Regions from separate parts of the Homo sapiens genome. Here region 1 is linked to region 2. The links are contacts of gene promoters, found by promoter capture Hi-C in human tissues and cell types (Jung and others, 2019). All regions are on one chromosome and are shown on one strand. The core of a region is centred on a gene start or on the middle of the fragment in contact, and the rest is flanking DNA. Distances in the headings are between cores, read along the strand shown.

Region 1 (3,679 bases), core at 759-3,258, 1.1 Mb after region 2:
CAAGGCAGGAGGATTGATGGAAGCCAGGAGTTCAAGACCAGCCTGGGTAACATAGCAAGACCCCATCACTACAAAAAAAAAAAATGTTTTTTAATTAGCTGGGCACTGTGGCGTGTGCCTGTAGTCCAAGCTACTTGGGAGGCTGAGGTGGGAGGATCACTTGAGCCCAGGAGGCCGAGGCTACAGTGAGCCAAGATTGCACCACTGCACTCAAGCTTGGGTGACAGTGTGAGACCCTATCTCTAAAAAAGAAAAAAAGAAAACACAGAGCTATTCACATAACAAATGTTTTGTGTACCACCTAAATGTGTCAAATCTCACTAGCATATTCCACTCTTTGGGAAATGCTGTCCTAAGTGGAAATTAGTGACAATTTCCAGAGAGATCTCAGCATCTTTGAACAAGCAACATCTTGGAGTCACCTGTCAATCAGACCACTGGGCTCAGCTTCCCAGAGATCTGTAGCATGGGGTAGGGAAAGAGGCCTTGTTGGAGAGAATACTGGCTTAGGGGGCTCAGGAGTGGGAGACAGGCCTGAAAAAACACTAGTAAAGATAGCCCATGTTCAGAAGTCTCAGAAACCCCCCAGTGCTTTCAGGAGAACATTTCACACACACACACACACACACACACACACACACACACACACACTCCACATATGAATGCTTTGGGCTGCAAGTAACAGGAAACCCACAGAAGATGTGTAGTCTGTCCAGATGCTCACTGATGTCATTGGCATCCTGGGTTCCCGTTTCTCTGCTCTGCAATCTCTATCTAGTTTTATCTTCATCCTGAAGATAAGGTTGTAAGTGAAAGGCTGCCAACACCACTGCAACACGCTTTCTTGTTTGAGTTCAGCAGAGGCAAGGGAGAGAGAAAGACAGAATGAGAGAGAGAGAGAAGCTGTCTTTCTGCGGGACTCCCTCAAGAGAGCGGAGGGAGCTGTGGGGTGTTTGAGGGGAATTAACAGTAATGATACTGATCAACAGTCACATGCTACTTTCTGTGCTACAAGCACTGCTCTTAGCCTTCCCATGTGCCCTATTACACCAACTCTAAGGTGCTCTGTGCATAAGAGCCATCTTAGAAAGAAAAAAATAAAGCAGCCAGGTGCAGTGGCTCACACCTGCAATCCCAACACTTTGGGAGGCCGAGGCAGGTGGATCACCTGAGGCCAGGAGTTTGAGACCACCCTGACCAACATGGTGAAACCCTGTCTCTACTAAAAAGACAAAAATTAGCTGGGCATGGTGGCAGACACCTGTAATCTCAGCTACTCAGGAGACTGAGGCGGGAGGATTACTTGAACCCGGAAGGCGGAGGTTGCAGTGAGCCGAGATCGTGCCACTGCACTCTAGCCTGGGCGACAGAGGAAGACTCTATCTAAAAAAAAAATAAAAATAAAAATAAAAAAGGCCAGGCGCAGTGGCTCACGCCTGTAATCCCAACACTTTGAGAGGCGGAGGCAGGTGGATCACCTGAGGTCAGGAGTTCGAGACCAGCCTGACCAACATGGAGAAACCCCATCTTTACTAAAAATACAAAATTAGCCGGGCGTGGTGGCACATGCCTGTAATCCCAGCTACTCAGGAGGCTGAGGCAGGAAAATTGCTTGAACCCAGGAGGCAGAGGCTGCAGTGAGCCAAGATTGCGCCACTGTACTGCAGCCTGGGCAACAAGAGTGAGACTCCATCTCAAAAAAAAAAAAAAAAAAGGAAGCAAAAAAGACCACTGTTGATTAAACCACAACAGATCATCTATTTTAACACCCATCCCAATTCCGTGGATCCATGAAATACCCCATACTAGCTCATTTGGTCCTCTCCACAACCCTATGAGATAGGTAGCATTATCATCCCCATTTTATACAGGGGGAAACTGAGGTCAGAAAGACTGAGTGGCATGCTCAAAGTCCCCCCAGTGAGCCAGAGGTGGAGCCAGGATTTGAACTCGGGCAGTCTGGCAGCAGAGCCCTGACTCTTATCTGCTCTCCACACTGCCTCTCTGCTTCCAGTCTGATTTTGGAGAAGTAGACCCAGGAATCACACAGACAGCTAGAAATATCCGCCTATTGGCATATGAAAAGGGGCTCAACATCGCTGATCATTAGAGAGATGCAAATCAAAACTACAGTGAGATATATCATCTCACCCCAATTAAAGTGCCTTATATCCAAAAGACAGGCAATAACAAATGCTGGCAATGATGTGAAGAAAAGGGAACCCTCGTACATTGTTGGTGGGAATGTAAATTAGTACAACCACCGTGGAGAACAGTTTGGAGGTTCCTCAAAAAACTAAAAATTGAGGCTGGGCGCAGTGGCGCACACCTGTAATCCCAACACTTTGGGAGGCCAAAGCAGGTGGATCCCTTGAGGTCAGGAGTTCAAGACCAGCCTGGCCAATGTGGTGAAACCCCGTCTCTACTAAAAATACAAAAATTAGCCAGGCGTCATGGTGCATGCCTGTCATCCCAGCTACTCAGGAGGCTGAGGCAGAAGAATCAGTTGAACCTGGGAGGCAGAGGTTGCAGTGAGCAAGATCACACCACTGCACTTGAGCCTGAGGGACAGAGCTAGACTCTGTCTCAAAAAAAAAAAAAAAAACAAAACACCTAAAAATTTGAGCTACCATATGATCCAGCAATCCCACTGCTGGGTATATACCCCATAGAATGGAAATCAGTGTATCTGTTAAGGAAATATCTACACTGACATGTGTATTGCAGCACTGCTCACAGTAGCCAAAATTTGGAAGCAACCTAAGTGTCCATCAGCAGATGAATGGATAAGGAAAATGTACATATGCACAGTGGAGTACTATTTAGCCATAAAAAAGAATGAGATCTAGTCATTTGTAACAACATGAATGGAACTGGAGACCATTATGTTAAGTGAAATAAACCAGGTTCAGAAAGACAAACATCACATGTTCTCACTTATTTGTGGGAGTTAAAAATCAAAACAATTGAACTCATGGACATAGAGAGGCTGGGAAGGATAGTGGAGGTTGGGGGGAGGAGAGGATGGTTAGTGGGTATAAAAAAATAGAAATAATGAATAAGACCTACTATTTGATCACACAACAGGGCGCCTATAGTCAATAATAACTCGCCTATTTAAAGATAACTGAAAGAGTATAATTGGATTGTTTGTAACACAAAGGATAAATGCTTGAGGGGATGGATGCCCCATTCTCCAGGATGTGATTATTATACATTCCATGCTTGTATCAAAACATTTCATTTACCCCATAAATAAGTACACCTACAAAAATTAAAAATTAAAAAAATATATATCAGCCTGTTGGTAAAGGCTTAGCTGGGTGGCCGCAGCGGGCTTCCCAACACCCCCAAATTGAACTTACCATCTAAAATGGAGGCTCCTTGGCCAGGTGCAGTGGCTCATGCCTGTAATCCCAACACTTTGGGAGGCCACGATGGGCCGATCACCTGAGGCCAGGAGTTCAAGACCAGCCTGGCCAACATGGTGAAACCACGTCTCTACTAAAAATACAAAAACATGTGCTGTGTCCACTCAGGGTTAAATGGATTAAGGGCGGTGCAAGATGTGCTTTGTTAAACAGATGCTTGAAGGCAGCATGCTCGTTAAGAGTCATCACCAATCCCTAATCTCAAGTAATCAGGGACACAAACACTGCGGAAGGCCGCAGGGTCCTCT
Region 2 (3,512 bases), core at 839-3,338:
TGACACCACATGAAGCTCTTCCATCTAGAAATGAGTCTTGCAGAATGTTCCCTTCTACCTGGCTCCATTATTTATTCAACCAACCAATCAACTTTGGAGAACCTATCAGGCAGCCTGGAAGCTTTTATATAAGCCACATCAATTTAATTCCTCCCTCATCTTTTCCAGTTTGCCTTGGCCAGCTCGGCCTATGAAGACTCCAGGAAATGGTTCTCAACTGGGGGTGATTCTGCCCCCCAGGGGACATTTGCAATGCCTGGAGACACTTTTGGTTGTCATAGCTGGGGAGAGGGGGCAGGGAATGCTAATGACATCTAGTGGGAAGAGGCTAAAGATGCCGCTAAGCAACTCACAATTTACAGGACAGCCCCTACAACAATGATCTGGCCTCAAGTGCCAATAGTGCTGGGGTTGAGAGACACTGACTCCAGACGGGGTAGGCTCTTTTTGTCTCTGCCTGGTGGACTCTGGCAGCATGGCTGGATGGCAAGCACCTTGAAGGCAGGCACTGCATCTGTCCTGTTCATGCAGGGAACGCAGGTGTTCATGGATACATGTTTACTGAGCGATTGTGACTCTGCAGCCTGGGAGGCAGGTAAGTCCTTCAACCTTTCTGAGCCTCCTTTTTCTCCCTTAAGGCAGGCAAGGCCTACCTCACCTTCACCCTGAAGGTATCATACTGCTGCCCCTTCTCACTCCAGGCACAGTGTCATCTGGTGTCCCTCACCCTGTTTCCCACCACCTAGGCCTGGCCTTGAGAGGTTCTGTGGAAGGAATTTTGGGGAGAGGACACCACTTACTGTTGATGGACTTGAGGTCCCGGTGGATGATGGGCACAGGGGCATCATTGTGTAGGTAGTTCATGCCCCGGGCCACCTGCACAGCCCAGTTGACCAGCACGTGAGGTGGCACCCGGCGACCTGCCAGCACCCTGCTCAGTGCACCACCCCGGGCATACTCCATCACTAGGCAGAGGTGTGGGGGGTTGAGGCAGGCGCCCCTAAGGGCAATTATGTTGGGGTGCTGCAGGGCTCCAAAGAGCCGGGCTTCCTGGCACACCTGCTCCGCTGTCACTGCCGGGTCCTTCTCAGGGTCCAGCCGGGCGGCCTTGACTGCCACCTCCTCGCCACGCCACAGGGCCCGATAGACCTTGCCAAAGCCCCCCACACCGATGATCTCCTCTAGCTGCAGCTCGTGGAAGGGGATCTCCTGGGGCAGCTGGAGGCCCGCGGGTGCAGCGGGGGCGCCGGGGGCCACGTAGTTGCTGGGGAAGACGCCCACGCGGCCGCTGGGGAGCTGCCCGGTCCACCAGCCCTCGTCGCCGGACACCGCACAGTCTTGGGAAAGCACCTGGACGCGATCGCCCCTCCGCAGGGTCAGCTCCTCGTCGCCCGCCGCCTCGTAGTCGAACACCGCGGTCCAGACGGGCCCCGCGGGGGTCGTGCCCCACTCCTTGGCCACCGCCCCCTCCTCCTCCTCCATGGGGGAGGGGCCGGGGGCTGCGGGAGGCCGCTTCACACAGGCTGCCCGCGGGATGCAGAGGGCGGGCCCCGGCGGCCGGGATGGAGGGCAGTCCCTGCGGGGTCTAGGGAGCTCCTGAGGGCCATGGCTGGGGCGCCCTCCGCAGGAGCAAGAAAAAAAACCCTTTCAAAGGGCAGGCTCGTCCCTTCCGATTTGGCTGTACGGGCGGGGCGGGGCGGGGTGGGAGTGGGGCGGCAGGTTCACCCGTGCCCCCCAAACGGCAGAGGGCTAAGAGGGCCTGGCCGCGCGGCTCTCGAATGCCCGCCGGGGTCCGCCGGTGGGGGACGAGGGCGAGGGCGGCAGGCAGTCCCCGTTCCCCGCGCCGCTCACCCCGCGCAGCTCCACCGGCGGCCCCCGGCTCCGCATCCCGGGCCACGACTGCCGGGCCGGGCGGGGGTGGCGGGGCCCCTGGGGCGGCCGCCCCGGGCCGGGGTGGCGCGCCCCTCGGCCTCCTCACGCGCGGGGCAGCCGGGCGGCCCCCATCCTTGGCACCGGCCTCCCGGTCGGCCCCAGCCCCTGCCCCCCGCCCGTGCTGCTTCCCCGGGCCACCGGCGGGGCCCGAGTGACGTGTGGGCGCCGCCGCCGCGGTGCCTCCTGGGAGTTGTAGTCTCCGGCCGTGCGGCCTCGGGGCCCGGCTCTCAGCGCCCTCCAGCAGAGCCCCGCGGCCAGCCTCGGGCCGCAATGGACATGACACCCCACGAAGCCGAAGGAGTCCTCCCGGGGAGATGAGCCCGGCCTCGGCCCCTCCTTCGGACGCGGCGTAGCGGGCGCCCGGGGCGGGGGGAAGCGCTCCTCACAGACCCTGTGGGGGCCGCGGCCCAGGATGGGTTGGACTGCAACGGACGCGATTAGCAACGCGAAAAATAGGAGCTGCGTGCATGACTGTGACTGCCCGGAGCCGCGAACGCAGCCTGGACCTTATCCCTGAGGCAGGACGGCCCCTCGGACCCCCCGACCGAGATGTACGCTGGGAACTGTAGTCCGCGCGGGGACCTGGCGCTGCAGGGGGCGGCCCCCAAACAGCGGGCTGCGGGCGTCGGCGGGTGGTTGGAGCAAGTTAGGGGTCGGGCCGGTGGCGGGACTCTGCGGGGAAGATGGGGCTGGGAGGATGTGTTTAGTGTCCCTGGGGATGTCACAGCCACGTCTGCTTTCCCCACCAGCTCTGGGTTCCTCTGCTGAAGTCAGAACTCCTGCTCTTGAGAATCCCCGATTCCTATTTTATAGGAGTTTCAATTTCGGGGAGCTTAATGTGCATGTTGTATTCAGTGCTTTGTACACGTGGTATCGTTAAGTCTTCACAAAGAGCCCCATTTTACAGATGACTCATAGAGAAGTGAAGTCATTTGTGCAAGGCTACAGAGCTATAAATGGCAAAGCAAAAATGAAAGGCAGTTTTAAAAATTAACAACCAGGCCGGGCGCGGTGGCTCACGCCTGTAATCTCAGCGCTATGGGAGGCCAAGGCGGGCGGATCACGAGGCCAGGAGTTCGTGACCAGCCTGGCCAGCATGGTGAAACCCCCGTCTCTACTATTTAAAAAAAAAAAAAAAAATTAGCCGGGCGTGGTGGTGTGCGCCTGTAATCTATCCCAGCTACTCGGGAGGCTGAGGCAGGAGAATCGCTTGAACCTGGGAGGTGGAGGTTGCAGTGAGCCAAGATCACGCCACAGCACTCCAGCCTGGACGACAGGGCAAGACTCCGTCTCAAAATAAATAAATAAATAAATAACCATCGCCACGATTAACAAAAACAACAACAACAAAAAAAAAAACAACAAAAAACAAACAAACAAAAAACCCACTGCCTTTCTATTTAAAGAATGAGGAAAGTAGGTCCCGCAGAGGTTCAGTGACTTCTTCAAGATCTCTAAGCTTGTAAGAGGCAAAATTCTGGGTCTTTTTACTTGGCCTCTCCTGAGTGGTATGGGGTCTAGAGGGAGGAGAGAAGAAGAGGAAATAAGAGGGACTCTAGTGCCCAAACTCCAGAGAACTG

What was found. Contacts are between HindIII fragments. The study calls those that stand out against the background at their distance.
Region 1: a contact is called between a fragment that was not itself captured here and the fragment with the promoter of MAP3K10 in region 2, in 1 of the 25 tissues and cell types used here (pancreas).

Annotation. Positions count from the first base shown.
Region 1 is chr19:39,058,669-39,062,347 of GRCh38, reverse strand. No RefSeq gene overlaps it. Among named protein-coding and RNA genes, the nearest start is that of ACP7, 24 kb to the left of the region's middle. RefSeq lists an enhancer at 3,342-3,679. The HindIII fragment of the contact is 6,146 bases long and covers 1-3,679 here.
Region 2 is chr19:40,190,002-40,193,513 of GRCh38, reverse strand. It overlaps MAP3K10 (mitogen-activated protein kinase kinase kinase 10), which reads right to left and starts at 2,088. Exons shown (of 10, transcript NM_002446.4): 1 at 801-2,088. The coding sequence starts at 1,482. RefSeq lists silencers at 1,391-1,690, 1,961-2,460 and an enhancer at 2,621-2,860. The HindIII fragment of the contact is 11,839 bases long and covers 1-3,512 here.